Linked DNA regions of Homo sapiens: all the other regions are linked to region 3. The links are contacts of gene promoters, found by promoter capture Hi-C in blood cells and fetal thymus (Javierre and others, 2016). All regions are on one chromosome and are shown on one strand. The core of a region is centred on a gene start or on the middle of the fragment in contact, and the rest is flanking DNA. Distances in the headings are between cores, read along the strand shown.

Evidence for each region. Contacts are between HindIII fragments. The CHiCAGO score rates a contact against its expected background, and 5 or more counts as called.
Region 1: a contact is called between a fragment that was not itself captured here and the fragment with the promoter of DHCR7 in region 3, in 1 of 17 cell types (endothelial precursors). The highest score is 7.2, in endothelial precursors.
Region 2: a contact is called between the fragment with the promoter of PPFIA1 here and the fragment with the promoter of DHCR7 in region 3, in 1 of 17 cell types (neutrophils). The highest score is 5.3, in neutrophils.
Region 4: the fragment with the promoter of LTO1 here is called in contact with the fragment with the promoter of DHCR7 in region 3 in 1 of 17 cell types (total CD8 T cells); the score reaches 7.0 in total CD8 T cells.

Annotation. Positions count from the first base shown.
Region 1 is chr11:70,408,254-70,411,799 of GRCh38, reverse strand. It overlaps CTTN (cortactin), which reads right to left. Exons shown (of 18, transcript NM_005231.4): 5 at 1,840-1,969. Among named protein-coding and RNA genes, the nearest start is that of CTTN, 11 kb to the right of the region's middle. The HindIII fragment of the contact is 840 bases long and covers 1,055-1,894 here.
Region 2 is chr11:70,268,272-70,271,939 of GRCh38, reverse strand. It overlaps PPFIA1 (PPFI scaffold protein A1), which reads right to left and starts at 1,250. Exons shown (of 28, transcript NM_003626.5): 1 at 1,026-1,250. RefSeq lists silencers at 646-1,075, 1,116-1,665. The HindIII fragment of the contact is 13,908 bases long and covers 1-3,668 here.
Region 3 is chr11:71,446,674-71,450,142 of GRCh38, reverse strand. DHCR7 (7-dehydrocholesterol reductase) reads left to right here and starts at 1,750. Exons shown (of 9, transcript NM_001360.3): 1 at 1,750-1,853; 2 at 2,409-2,533. It overlaps DHCR7-DT (DHCR7 divergent transcript), which reads right to left and starts at 1,615. Exons shown (of 2, transcript NR_186309.1): 1 at 1,258-1,615. RefSeq lists an enhancer at 1,217-1,718 and a silencer at 1,444-2,083. The HindIII fragment of the contact is 9,377 bases long and covers 1-3,123 here.
Region 4 is chr11:69,673,533-69,677,468 of GRCh38, reverse strand. LTO1 (LTO1 maturation factor of ABCE1) reads left to right here and starts at 2,116. Exons shown (of 5, transcript NM_153451.3): 1 at 2,116-2,279. The coding sequence starts at 2,230. RefSeq lists enhancers at 1,755-1,954, 1,824-2,324 and a silencer at 2,445-2,534. The HindIII fragment of the contact is 5,284 bases long and covers 571-3,936 here.

The DNA.
Region 1 (3,546 bases), core at 225-2,724, 1.0 Mb after region 3:
GAGACCGCACAGGAGAGAGGGAAGTGAGGGCTCTTCCAGGGAGCTCCTGGCACTCGGGAAGGCCTGAGCTGCAGGTTCTAGGGTGAGCGAGATTCGCGCTGAAAAAAGGTGCAGGCCGAGCAGCAGCAGAGAAGCCACAGCAGCTTCCCTACCAGGCTCTCCTGACACGTTGCCTTTCTTTTCCCCAATATGTAATTTTCCCAACCCACAGCAGGGAGCCCCATTTTTAGAATAAATGTCTCTCTGCGCTAACTCCCCACAAGCCCCCTAAGCACAGGGCTCGCCTCAGTCTGCAGTGGGAAAGGCTCCTATCTACTTGCTTCGTTCACTGCACTGAACACATGGATTCCGTCTGTCCGTGTGCACACGCTTCGCTCGCTGCACTGAACACGGATTCCGTCTGTCCGTGTGCACACGCTTCGCTCGCTGCACTGAACACATGGATTCCGTCTGTCCGTGTGCACACGCTTCGCTCGCTGCACTGAACACATGGATTCCGTCTGTCCGTGTGCACACGCTTCGCTCGCTGCACTGAACACATGGATTCCGTCTGTCCGTGTGCACACGCTTCGCTCGCTGCACTGAACACATGGATTCCGTCTGTCCGTGTGCACTTGCTTCGCTCGCTGCACTGAACTCAGGGGTCCGTCTGCCTGTTTACACTCCTAAAAGCTACCAGACTTTTTTTAGACTCCAAAGATGATGATTCTGCACACATTGCTCTTCTCGGTGTCAGGGCATCTCTGTGGTAGTGACGCAGCAACATCCATGTCTCTTTCCTGCAGAAGGTCCCTCACCCCACTCCTCCCCCAGGCTATTTATGGTCGTGGTTTGGGGTGCCCTGCCGGCCCACCACATCATCTACTCTGCGGGGGACAGAGCAAGGTGCAGCTCACTGTGACACGGCAACATCATCCCGTGCCCAGCTCAAATGTTCATCTGGCTGGTGCATGAGGTGGGAGAGGGGTATGGAATTACCGGCTGGAATCCGACACTGGCTAACACACTTCTTTCCACAGAGTAAAGGCAAGCATCTGTCAGGTCAGAACAAGCTTATGTTGCTCAGACTCAAAAGTTCACCTCCAGGATGTCTGTTTTACTGAAGAAACATGCAAACACACTGCGATCTCTTCCATCTTCTCTCCAGGAAGGAAAAGGTAGCCCTCCTGAGCTAACGTGGCTCCCTTTCTTAAGGTAGAGAGGACCTAAAGCACGGGTGCAGCCGGATGCATTTGGCCAACGTCCTCAATCAACGTCTGCGTGGCAGTCTGCATCCCATCAATGACAGCTGCTGGGAGGCTTGCCCAGACCTCTCGAATAGAGTGAGCACTGTCCCCAGCCTGGTACGCGCCGAATTTACACGAGGGAGACTGCTCTGATGGTCACTGAACGCATGAAGGATGTTAGCCAGGCCTTTGGCTGGATTCCGTGTGTGCTGTGAACCATGGGGACCTACAGATTTGACTTTGGTCTTCGGACTGGCATGACTTAGGCTACAGACTGGAACCACAGGCATTGACAGTGATGACACCTAGAGCCAGGATGCTTCTGGACTTCTGTCCTATCACAAGGCTGCCTCTGAGGGCCAATCTCCCTCTCTGGGCCTCCCCACTAACACCCGTGCTCCAGCACCTCTGAGGATTCCTAAAGAGCTTTGAAGAAAGCTAGAGTACTTCATGAGTAAGTCCAATCAACAGGGGTCTACTCCGGGCAAATCGCAACCTCAGCAGATGGACTCAAAACTGCTGATCTAAGGAAAGACTGAGGGACGACTCTGCCACCCAGTCTAGTGGTCCAAGCACACCAGGAGCCTGGCATAGGCAGCCGCGGGCCACTTACCTTATCCATTCGGTCTTGTTCCACACCAAATTTCCCTCCATAGCCATGGGAAGCTTTTGGTCCTGTTTCAAGTTCCTTCTCCTTAAGGGTCTGATGCTCTTGAAAGACATTCTCCCTCAGCTTGTGTATGCTTGATGGAAGAGATGAAAATAGGAACAGATCAATAAAACAGACGTGCAGCTTTGCCTCCTGGTATGATAAATAAGAACAGGTGACATTATCTTTGTAAATTTGTAAATCTGCTTATCTGATGTTCACCGATTCTCTCCCTGCACTGTGCCTTCCTGACTATTCTGCCGGCTGGTACACCCACTTCGGCAGTCTGCAGTATCAGACGCATGCTCTGTGGGAGACAGAACACGAATCTGAAGGCAGACACTGGGATCATCCCAAATCCCCGCTAAAGATGGCTCTACTGAAGCCTGACCTTTATTTCACACGCAGAAAATAGGAAAGCTAGTCTGTAATCATCCAGAGGTAGAGGGGGAAACACGAGGCTATGGTCCCTTCCTCGGCCACTGGCAGAAGTCCAGTGGTGCTGAACATTCAGATGATTCGTCTGTACTTGAAGTACTCCAGCTTTTTTATACATTCAAAGATGAGAGGAAAGCGTTTCAGAATTTAACATCTAAATGCCATTAAAAAATTTTAATACAGCAGATAATGAAACAGATGACAAGGTTTGCTCAAATCTGGTAGGCCAGACACAGCTGTCATTGAGAGACCCCAGAGTGATAAGAAGGCCACTTTGGCATTCGGACTTTCTGCCCAGGAGACACCAGGACGCCACCTTTGACATCTGGACGACAATCCTAGAATTGAAGATGAAATACAAACCAGGCTTGGAAACCGCCCAATACCCTTATGAGCAGGAGAAAGAAAGACACCACTCCTAAAACCTGGGAAGGCCCCAGAGCATGAAGAATGGGCTTATTCCCCATGTGTTCCTCTCTGAATCCTAACCAGCCCAAGGGTTTTGTACTGGAGAGTTGTTTTTTCTCCAAGCCACCCTCCGAGACATGTTTTGAAGCCACAGGGAACAGAAGAGATGAGAAGAGGTATGATGACTCAACGAATTCAGGAGTCTGCTTAACGCCATAGCAAATACCCAAGGCTACAGTGGACTCCCAAGTCAGCCCCATTCCAGTCTCTTGTCCTGGGCAGCCGCACGGCCACCGGAGTTCCGAAGCTGCTTCTGTGGAAGGGAGTGTGCTGAGCAAGCCAGAGAGGGACTAAAACTTGTGTATAAAAAGCCACTGGGGGCCAGGTGCGGCGGCACACACCTGTGATCCCAGCACTTTGGGAGGCTGAGGCAGGAGAATCACCTGAGCCCAGGAGTTCAAGACCAGCCTGAGCAACAAAAGCAAGACCTCATCTTTACAAGAAATAAAAGCACTTAGCTAGCCATTGTGGTGTGCGCCCATGGTTCCAGCTACTCAGGAAGCTGAGGTGAGAGGATCGCTTGAACCCAGGAAGTCAAAGCTGCAGTGAGCTATGATTGCACCACTGCACTCCAGCCTGGGTGACAGAGTGAGACCCTGTCTCAAAATAAATAAATAAATAAATAAATAAATCTTTAACAACAAAATAAAAAGCCATTGTGCAGGCTGTGCCTTCTTTTCTGGAGGAAGGACTAAATCTTTCTCAGCTGAAGGGACCGTGGTCAAGCGGGACAGTCTTCCCGGGATACTGAGGCGGTCACCGGGT
Region 2 (3,668 bases), core at 1-2,500, 1.2 Mb after region 3:
CCAAAGGACTACCCTCACAAAAAAGGGCAAGCCCTGGGGTAGTCTGTTTGCAAAGCTGTACTTGTTTTTGCTGAAAACAAGTGTGCTTCTGTTACCTATTTTTTTTACTTCCCAGTGGGGTGGGGAGGGTGGGGGGGTAGGGGGGGAGAAAGTCAAAACACATGTCACCCAATCATTTTTCAGGAAAAGCACAGAAGGAGCATACAACCAGCAAAACTGACAAGTACAAAATCCATCAGGCATCTTGCAGGAATGTGTGCAGTCAGCTCCCGGGAAGAACTGACGGCTCCCTGAATTCTTGGGCTGGATTTGGTGAGCACTAAAAGGAACCGGATTCGTTAAACGCTGGTAGAAGTGTTTTCCAATGGCTGCAACGGTTGGTCAACCTAACTTACGTAAGTTTACAACCGAAAAAAAAAATCCACAATGGAAATATAGCAGGTCGATACAGCCGGGGGCGGCTAGGAAAGAGGGAAAAGTGAAAGGTGAGATTACGAGAGTCTATTAAGTGTCTGGGATATAAAGACAGCGCCAGGGAAAGGGGAAGTCGCTTCTGAGCCTTTCGGGCAGTACTGGGGGCGCGGTGGACCCCTGAGAGGGGGATGCCCCAGACGGCGCACCTGATGGGGATGGTGACCTCCAGCCTGCTCGAGCCGCACTCCTCCCCTCCTGTATCAGGTGCGGCGGAAGCCCCGAACCCCGGGGGGTGAGGACCGTTGACAACGGAGCCCGCTCGGGCCAGGGCTTTCAGCGGCCACAGGTCCCCGCCCCTCGCCCCAGCGCCCGGGTCACGGGGCGCGGGGCTCGGGGAGGGGCAGCGCGCAGTCCCCGGAGCCGTCCCTTGGGGCGCGGGTGTCCCGCCGGAGCTCTCCCAGCGCGACCCGGCGCCGCGGCCTCGCCCCCACCCGTCCCGGAGCGCACCCTTCCCCGCGGAGACATCTAATCGGCTGCGTGGCCGCCGCGGAGACCGGGACGCGCCGGTGACGCCTGGGCCCCGAGCCTGCCTCAGTGTCCCGCTCCCTTACCTTGCTCGCCGGCGGGAGCGGGCGAGGAGGCTCCGCGGCGGCTCGCGGGCGGCTGCTCGCTCCGGGAGAGCTTGGGAGCCGACGAAAGCAGCCCGCGGCCGGCGTCCGCCTGCCCGCCCCACGCCGCGGCCCCGGGGCCCGCCGCCCCAGTCACTAAGGCCGGCCCGCGGCCGGACACTGGCGGAGCGGAGGAGGAGCGGGCCCGGCTGCGCGGCGCCGGCGTCTACGTGCCCGACGTCGAGCGCGTCGGCGCGAGCGTCAGCACCGCCCCGGGGGCGGGGCCCGAGGAGCACCTTGGCCCGAGTACGCAAGCGCTGTCTCCTCAGGAGGGGGCGGGAGGCGGCCCCGGGGCACTGATTGGCTGAGCGAGACGGGAGCCACGCCCCCCAGGCCCCGCCCGGGTCGCGGGGGAGGGGGCGGTCTCCGGGATGAGCCACAGGTGGGCGCTCAGGTGCTCGCCGGGTCAGCGTCTTCCTCCGGGCGTCCCCAGTTTCCCCCCACGGCTGCAGGGACGCCGGAGGCCTTTGCTGAGTGTCTACCGCGCCTCGAGTTCTGAGCTGGACGCGTCCGGCACGTCAGGTCCCTCCCGAGCTGGAGGCTCTGGATTCGCACCTTGCAGAAGAGCGAACCGAGGCTTCAGTCACCACCGAGGACCCAGACCCCGCCCGCCGCGGCGCCCCTACGGTCTCCCTGGGCCTGATCTGGGTTCAGAAGGACGGAGTTCCCGCCAGGACCCACTTACGGAGCGCTGCCTGCCGCACCTGGGGACGTCCCGGCGCAGCGTCCAGAGTGCAGGCTTTGCCGCTGTGGCTTTCACTCTGCAGCGTGGGCCCGGGCGACTCGGGAAACCCGCCTGGGCTTCAGCGCCTCCGATGTAGGATGGGAAAATGATGCAGACCTACCTGCGAGGCTGCTTTAAGACATGAATCAGATGTGAAGAGCGACTAGTTGAGAGCCTGACGGGCAGCACTGCGCGAGTCTTGGTCATTTCATCTTTTCCGCAAGTTTTTTTTTTTTTCCAGACGTTGTTTCACTCTTGTCACCCAGGCTGGAGTGCAATGGCGCCATCTCGGCTCACTGCAACCTCTGCCTCCCGGGTTCAAGTGATTCTCCTGCCTCAACCTCCCGTGTAGCTGGGATTACAGGCGCACGCCACCAAGTCCAGATAATTTTGTATTTTTAGTAGAGACGGGATTTCTACATGTTGGTCGAGCTGGTCTCGAACTCCTGACCTCAGGTGGTCTGCCCGCCTCAGCCTCCCAAAGTGTTGGGATTACAGGCGTGAGCCACTGCGCCCGGCCTCAGCAAGAATTTTTAAACATCTACTATGGGCCAAGTCTTGTGCTAGATGTTGCAGATACGGAGATGAATAGAGACACCTCTAATTAATTAAAGCGGATGCCCTCCCCACTCCTCCCAGGATTTGACTCGGAGCACAAACTCTTCACAAACCAAAATGTCAGGACACCATCGCCAGTGTCCACTGGCCACTGCTGTTGGTGTGAGGCAGCCAGGAGCCCCTCAGAACTAGTAAGTCTGAGAAGAGGCTGCACGGGGCCTAGGAGAGGGAGAAATGAGCCCGTCCAAGGTGAATTCCTTGATTCTCCATTGTGAGTGCACCAAGAACAAGCACTCCCTCCGACTGACTCTCGCCTACCAGGATCTGGAACACCTTCCATTAATTTATTCGTTCATTCAATAAATATTTATTGACTGACTACACATAGATATGAATATGTACTTTTTGCCCCTAGTTTCTTGCTATTTTAAAAGTGTAAAAATGGCCAGGTGAGGCCGGGTGCGGTGGCTCAAGCCTGTAATCCCAGCACTTTGGGAGACCCAGGTGGGCAGATCACTTGAGGTCAGGAGTTCAAAACCAGCCTGGCCAACATGGTGAAACCCTATCCCTACTAAAAATACAAAAATTAGCCGGGTGTGGTGGCGGGCATCTGTAATCCCAGCTACTCAGGAGGCTGAGGTGGAAGAATAGCTTGAACCTGGGAGGTGGAGGTTGCAATGAGGAGATCATGCCACTGCGCTCCAGGCTGGGAGACAAAGCGAGGCTCTGTCTCAGAAAAAAAAAAAAAAAAAAAACATTGGCCAGGTGCAGTGGCTCACGTCTGTAATCCCAGCACGCTGGGGGGCCAACGTGGGAGGATTGCTTGAGCCTGGGCAATATATCGAGACCCATGTCTATACAAAAAATTAAAAATTAGTCCAGCAAGGTGGGCCACACCTGTAGTCCCAGGTACTTGGGGGATTGAGGTGGGAGGATCGCTTGAGCCTGAGAGGTCGAGGCTGCAGTGAGCTGTGATTGTGCCACTGCATTCCAGCCTGGGTGCCAAAGCGAGACTCTGTCTCAAAAATAATAAAATTGTAAAGTTGATCGCTTAGATGAGGTGTTCTGCAAGTACCCTGTACCTCTCCACACCCCAGCAATTCTGCACAACTCCCAAGTTCCCCTGAACCACTGTCTGAAACCAGCAAATTTCCAGCTCTCCTTAGGGGTACCTGCTTAATGCAGCCAGCTTATGTTTGCACCATGCTCATAAAGTGTCTGTTTTCTAAGAAATCGGCTCAAGGCCGGGCGCAGTGGCTCACGCCTGTAATCCCAGCACTCTGGGAGGCCGAGGTAGGCGGATC
Region 3 (3,469 bases), core at 501-3,000:
TAAATGATCCCAAACATCTACAGTTCAAAATACTGATTTCCATTCTTTAAAATCTGTGCTTCCCAGGCAGCCTGTCCTCAAACTTTATACACTTAAATAAACTCTCTTTAAGCTAAATTCTGACCTGTTTGGTTATTTCAGGTTGACAGCCTTCTAACAAGATAAAACATGCTCTATGTAGTATATTATCCTGCCAAAAAAAGTGCATAGCCTGAATGCACAGTGTGGCTCCCTGATTAGATCCTGGGGTTTAAAAAAGGGCTGTAGGGCAGAGCTTCACACCTGTAGTCCCAGCACTGTAGGAGGCCACAGTGGGTGGATCGCTTGAGCCCAGGAGTTCGAGACCAGCTTGGGGAACATAGTGAGACCCCCCCCCCCACCCATCTCTACCAAAAAAAAAATAGCGTGTGGTGGTGTGCTCTTGTAGTCCCAGCTACTCAGGAGGGTGAGGGAAGAGAATCGCTTGAGCCCAGCAGTTCAAGGCTGCAGTGAGCTGTGATCGTGCCACTACACTCCAGCCTGTGTGACAGAGACCCCCGTCTTAACAAAGCAAAACAAAACAACAATAACAAAAGGGCTGTAAAGGGCATTATTGGGACAACCGCGGGAAACTGGAGATGGAAAATAGATAACAGCATTGAACTGATGTGGTCATTGTATTTTGGTAATATAGGAGGTTCTTGTTCTTAAGGAGTTGGATACCGAAGTATTTGGGAGGGGGGTATCACGGTATCTGCAGCTAATGGTGGGGGCTGAGTGGGGAGGAAAAAAGAAAAATACACATATATAAACACAGAGGGAGAGAAATGAAACGTGGCCAGCTGCTCACCCCTGCTGAACCTAGGAATCTGCGTGCTCACTTTACGTTCAACTTGTTTGTATGCTGAACATTTTTCAAAACAAAAAGGTGCAGGGAAAAAAGAAAACATGATGTCTCTCTGAGGGCCACAGAGACGTGGCAACCAGATCGCTCTGACAGTAAGGCCTGTTACCCGAGCTGTTGGGTGTGGGGTCAGCAGACACCTTCAGCTGCCCCCTCCTCCAGGGCTGCCTCGCCCCAGGTCATGCCCTCGCAACGTGGCCCGTGCGTCCGGCTCGCACTGTGGCTCAGCTTCTCCCTTTGCCCAGTCCTGCTGCTCCCTCCCCTCCCGTCCTCGCACAGGTGTGCCCCCCTAATAAGCAGGCCACCCAGACTCCATCTCGGGTCACTTTGGCGGTCTCCCAGCGGCGAGCCTTCCCTGACACCCATGTGTTTACCTGATCGTTTATGGAGGATCCTCTTCGCCCCGGGACGTGAGCCCTAGGACCAAGAACTGTGTCTGTTTTGCTCCTTGCGGTGCACCGGCGCCTGGACATACGCTCCATCAATGTGCGTCGCGAGCCGCTGAAGCCCCATTTGCCGAGGGGGAAACTGAGGCACGATGATCCAGGTGATGAGCCTGGCGCGTTCTCCGCGCGGCCCACGTGGCCACTCCGCCACGCCCCACCCCCAGCTGGTCAGCTGGGATCCCGAAGAAGCGCCAGAGGCTGCGCCCACCCACTAGGGCCCGGGCGGGCCGGTGGGGCGGCAGGGCGGGGCCTGGGCCGTCAATCTCGAGTCCGGCCGCTGCCGAATGGCGGGCGCGGTGGGCCCGGAGTCAGCTCAGGCTCCTCGACCAATCACGGGGCGCGGAGCCGCCGGGCGTGCAGGGTCCGCCTCCGATTGGCAGGCAATCGCTGACATCATCCGGGGGCGGGCGCCCCTGCCCTGCGGGTGACTCCGACCCCTGGCTAGAGGGTAGGCGGCGTGGAGCAGCGCGCGCAAGCGAGGCCAGGGGAAGGTGGGCGCAGGTGAGGGGCCGAGGTGTGCGCAGGTGAGTGGCCAAGGTGTGCGCAGGTGAGGCCAGGGGAAGGTGTGCGCAGTGGGGGGCGCTTGCCCAGGTGAGCAGGTGCCCACTCACAGGGCGAGGGTGGGGTCAGGGGTAGGGGGCGTGCGCGCAGGTGGGGAGAGGGTCCAGCTCACAGGCGAGGGGCCGCTGGGGCTCCGGGGAGGCGGGGCGGAGGCGTGGATAGTCCCCCTCCCCCACGAGCCGGCGTCTGAGGGATGCTCTGTCCCCGCGCTGTCTGGAGCTTCCCCGGGCGAAGGCTGCCTGGCTCCGGGGTCGGCTCCTGGCCCCATGCCGCGCTCCGCGGCGGCTCTTTCTCCTGCCCCACCTGTTGTTCGCCTCCCTCTTTGTCAGTGCTGAGCCAGGCACAGCAGCTTTGCGATGGGACTGGCTTGTCCGCCGTCCTCCCTGACATGCGGCTGTTGAAGCCCTGAGCACTGGACCTTCTGCCTCTTGCTTGACTCCTACTGTGGGCCTTGAGCTTCTGCCCTCTCCTGAAATGTCAGCTGCCTGCGGTCTTATTCATTTTTGTGTTCCTTGCAGGACTTTAGCCGGTTGAGAAGGATCAAGCAGGCATTTGGAGCACAGGTGTCTAGAAACTTTTAAGGGGCCGGTTCAAGAAGGAAAAGTTCCCTTCTGCTGTGAAACTATTTGGCAAGAGGCTGGAGGTAAGTGTATCTCAGTGCCCTGGATCGTGGGCGCAGGCTATGGCTTCACAGCGTTGAAAGTACAGACAGACTGGTCCACCAGCTCTCGAGTGCCAACGACTGTCTGTGCCTCTTATGAGTAAAATACAACATACCAGGGCACCTCCCCTTTGTCTGTTCCCAGCCGTCTATTGGGAAGGATGTTACTTAGATGTTTATTGCACAACTCAATGCTTGTGGCTAAAGAGCTGACTCCTGGGTGAATGAACTCTGTAATAAGCTAAAAGTACTTCTTTGGTCTTGTTTTAATCCCTTTTGACAACATTCTCCCAGTGGCTTTTTCACACTTTAGTTCTGAGGTTACACATCCCCTGACCCTTTTGCAATTTCCCAGTGTTTTACATAATTGATAATGTTGGTACCAGGCATTGTCCCCTTGTAGCTTATCCATGGCTTGGGGCAAGACGAATGCCACCCCATTCTACTTAGCCTTCCTGTAAGGCAAGTGTGCATGTGGGTGGTCTGGATTAACACCAGTCAGTGTGGGAACTAGGGATCGGAGGGAGTGGGGGCACTGAGCTGGTAAGTTTTGGCTGGGAAGAAACTAAGCTTGTATCTTACCTTGATGAGAGCCTGGGGGAGAGGAACTGTCTAAAGCAAGCCAGCTTGTCCAGGTGGCTGTGATCTTGAGATCAGACTCACTAGCGTGTCAGCTTTTCTCAGAAGTAGTTTTCTTTCATCCACTTTGATTTTACAGATATAAGGAGAGTGACTGGCACTCGCCAGGCTCTGTATTCAGTATTTGGGGCCGGAGAGAGACACGGTCTCTTCCTATCAAGAACTCTTCGTCTTGTTTTGTGCATCATAGGAACTGCATAAACTAACTTGTGTAAATTGAATGAAGTGCGGGTACTGAAGTTCTCACACTGCATAAGGAAAATGTCTTTCATCGTTGAA
Region 4 (3,936 bases), core at 867-3,366, 1.8 Mb after region 3:
CATTCTCCTGCCTCAGCCTCCCAAGTAGCTGGGACTACAGGTACACGTCACCATGCCCCACTAATTTTTTTTTTTTGTATTTTTTGGTAGAGACGGGGTTTCACCATGTTAGCCAGGATGGTCTCGATCTCCTGACCTCATGATCCGCCCGCCTCGGCCTCCCAAAGTGCTGGGATTACAGGCAAAATGTGCTTTATTCATTTATTTATTTAGAGATGGAGTTTTGCTCTTGTTGCCCAGGCTGGGGTGCAATGGTGTGATCTCGGCTCACTGCAACCTCTGTCTCCTGGGTTCTCCTGCCTCAGCCTCCCGAGTAGCTGGGCTTACAGGCATGCACCACCACGCCAGGCTAATTTTGTAGTTTTAGTACAGACGGGGTTTCTCCATGTTGGTCAGGCTGGTCTCGAACTCCCTAACTCTGGTTATCCACCTGCCTGGGCCTCCCAAAGTGCTGGGATTACAGGCGTGAGCCACCGTGCCCAGCCAATGTGCTTAATTTTTTTAAGTTAACTCTTTAACTCATCTGGAATTATTTTGATGAATGGTGTGAGGCATAAATGGAACCAAGCTTTTCCCAAACAACCAATTTTCCATTATAGTTATTAGTTAATATTTCCTTTCTCCAATTAATTTGTAATTCTTCTTTTTACCACATGAGAAGGCTTTACATCTATGAGAGTCCATTGTCTGGGCCATTTACTTTATTTCACTGGTCTGCCACTTCTTGAACCAACATACCACAATATTTATATTGACACTTTATCTTTTCATATCTGATATGAAAATCATTTTTTTCTAAAACATCTTAGTTATTTTTATTAGTTTATTCATACGGATGAAAAAGTTTAGGATTTTGACACATTTTACCAGATCTCATGGAATTTTCTTTGGTACTGCACTTGTTCAGTTCCCCAATCCTCAATCATGGTAGAGCTGTAGTTTTCCTTATATGGGTCCTGCTCAAATTGTTAGAAATTCTTATTTCTAAGAAATGTATTATGACTATCATAAGGCGATTTTCCCATCACCACCCCTGCTCAGGTTACTACCAATTATTGTTGGAATAACAGAAAGTGTTTTTTTCCCTATTCATCATACACATAGCTACTTGCTGCGATTATGGATTCTGAGAACGTCTTAGGTGACTATTTGGGTTTTCCACGTGGGCCATCATATCTGCAAATAGTAGTATTTCTGCCTTTTTTTTTTTTTTTTTTTTTTTTTGGTATTTCCACTTCTTGCTTCATGTTTTACTGCATTGGCCAGGGCTGGTAGAAAGATGTTCAGTGGTCACGTGAGGTTTTACTACTGACTTTATTAGGAATGCTTCTGGTGTTTCTCATCTGAGTTCCGTTGTCGCTTAGACTTTGAAATCCCTTTTTAAAAATCGTGTTCAGAAAGCACATCTCATGGAAATGACAAATATGAGAACTAAAACCGACAAATTTCTGCCCAAAATCCCACATGCAGAGCCTCCTGGCCTGGAGCCTCCTGAGGCGTCGGTTCTTTGATGACTTCCCATTTCTTTTCCCTTTTTTTTTTTTTTTTTGACGGAGTCTGGCTCTGTCGCCAGTCTGGAGTGCAGTGGTGCGATCTCGGCTCACTGCAACCTCCGCCTCCCAGCTTCCAGTGATTCTCCTGCCTCAGCCTCCCGAGTAGCTGGGATTACAGGCGCCTGCCACCATGCCCGGCTAATTTTTGTATTTTCAGTAAAGACGAGGTTTCACCATGTTGGCCAGGCTGGTCTCGAACTCCCGAACTCAGGTGATCCGCGCGCCTCGGCCTCCCAAAGTGCTGGGATGACAGGCGTGAGCCACCGCGCCAGCTGATGACTTCCCATTTCTTCCTTGGTTCTTTCGGAGCCACTTTGGGAAATTCGGTTCTATCTGCAGTGGTAAAATACAGGTCGGCTCTCCACGCGCGCGGCCAATGGACGCTCCCAGCGCGGACAGACAGGCCCTTTGCTGGAGCTGGGCAGGGCGAAAGGACCCCAGGGCGGGGCTTCAGTCGAGGCCGGCCCCGCCCACCGCTGCAGCCGCGCATGCGCCATGTACAGGCTGCTTTGGGCCCTCCCGCGTGCCGTTCTTACCCGGCCTGCCCCGCGCCGCCGCTTCCGGAAGTGGGTCTCGTCTCCTCCCAAGCGGAGCATTTGTGCCTGAAGCTGCCGGGTCTGCTACGGCACCGCGGGGCTGCAGAAACCCGGGGGCCAAGGGCGGGCTGCTTGCCGCTATGGCTGGCAGTCAGGACATATTCGATGCCATCGTGATGGCGGATGAGAGGTGGGTGGTGAGGCCGGGCCCGCACCCCGCCCTGTCTGGTCGTCTCCCAGCGGCTTCGCCGCCGGCTGCGGCCCAGGGCGGCTGCTGGAGCCTGGCGTCCCTTGGGCGTGCGCATTGGGGAGCGCCTGGTGGCCGTGGACGCAGGGACAAGTGTGGGCCTGATGCTCTGGTCCTCTTCTCCTGGCCCGCTCCGGCGGGGCACGTGCCCAGCTGCTCTTCCAGACCCGCCTTCCCTGTCAGGGCTGCCCCAAACATCTGCTCAGCCTGGTGGTTCCCCTCCTCCGAGGCCGCCTCGTCCTCTGGGAGGACAGACCTTTGCCATCTGGGAGCTGCCTTTTTTTCTGGTTCCTTAATCATAGGACATACGGCAGTATTCATGGATGTGCTGATAGATGTACCCGACCACACCCCTTTTCCCTCCAGAGCCCCTGGGGAGCCCCTCGTGCTGCGACAGTGGGGGAGCTGTGAGTTGCCTCCTGGCTGACTTCCAGTGCCCGGCCCAGAGGACGCGTCCATAGATGTTAGTTAAGAAAGCGGCCGAACATTTAGCAGTCAGGCGCTGACGTTTATTTAGCTCGCGCTGTGAGTCAGACACTGAGCTAAACGTTCCACCCTGGTTATCTACTTCAGCCCTACTTAGTAAGTGGATCCTATTATTCTTCGGAATTTACAGACTAGGAGGCACAGTCACTTTCCAGGGTCACACAACTATTAAGTGGGGAGCTATGCACCCTGCTTCATGGGGCGCTGCAGCCCACTCCTTGCATGTTTGGTGACTGCAGGTTAAGATAGTGGCAGTTCCACTGTTGGGCCTCAGGGTCAGTGCTACTCCGGGTACCAGTCGGAGAACATTTTGTGGTGATCTGATGCCATTTCTCTCTGTTGCCCTACCCATGTGATGTCAAACCCTGTGTATGTTGCAGTTTTTTGGAAGCGGTTGACTTGGGCTAGTGCTACTTGAACACTCACAGAACTTTGGCCCCCTAACTCTGGCTGCAAACCAGACTTATCTAGGAGACTTTGAAAAGTAGATTCCGGGCCAGATGCGGTGGCTGACGCCTGTAATCCCAGCACTTTGGGAGGCCGAGGCGGGCGGATCACGAGGTCAGGAGATCCAGACCATCCTAGCTAACATGGTGAAACCCCGTCTCTACTAAAAATACAAAAAATTAGCCGGATGTGGTGGTGGGCGCCTGTAGTCTCAGCTACTTGGGAGGCTGAGGCAGGAGAGCGTGAACCCGGGAAGCAGAGCTTGCAGTGAGCCGAGATCGCACCACTGCACTCCAGCCTGGGCGACAAAGCGAGACTCCATCTCAAGAAAAGAAAAGTGGATTGCAGGCCAGGTGCGGTGGCCCTCACTTGTAATCCCAACACTTGGAGCGGCCAAAGCTGGAGGATCGCTTGAGCCCAGGAGTTTGAGGCTATAGTGAGCTGTGATCATACCACTGCACTCCAGGCAGGGCAACAGAGACCCTGTCTCAAAAAAAAAAAAAAAAAAAAGGAAGAAAGAAAAGTAGATTCCAGGGCCTTGCTCCAGACGTACTGAATCTCTGGGGGTGAGGCTTTTGAGTTAATATCTTTGAATTTTCCTTGTGTGTTTCTAGTACCCTATCAGGTTTGGGAATCCCTAATTTAGCCCTTTGTTGTAGATGAAGAA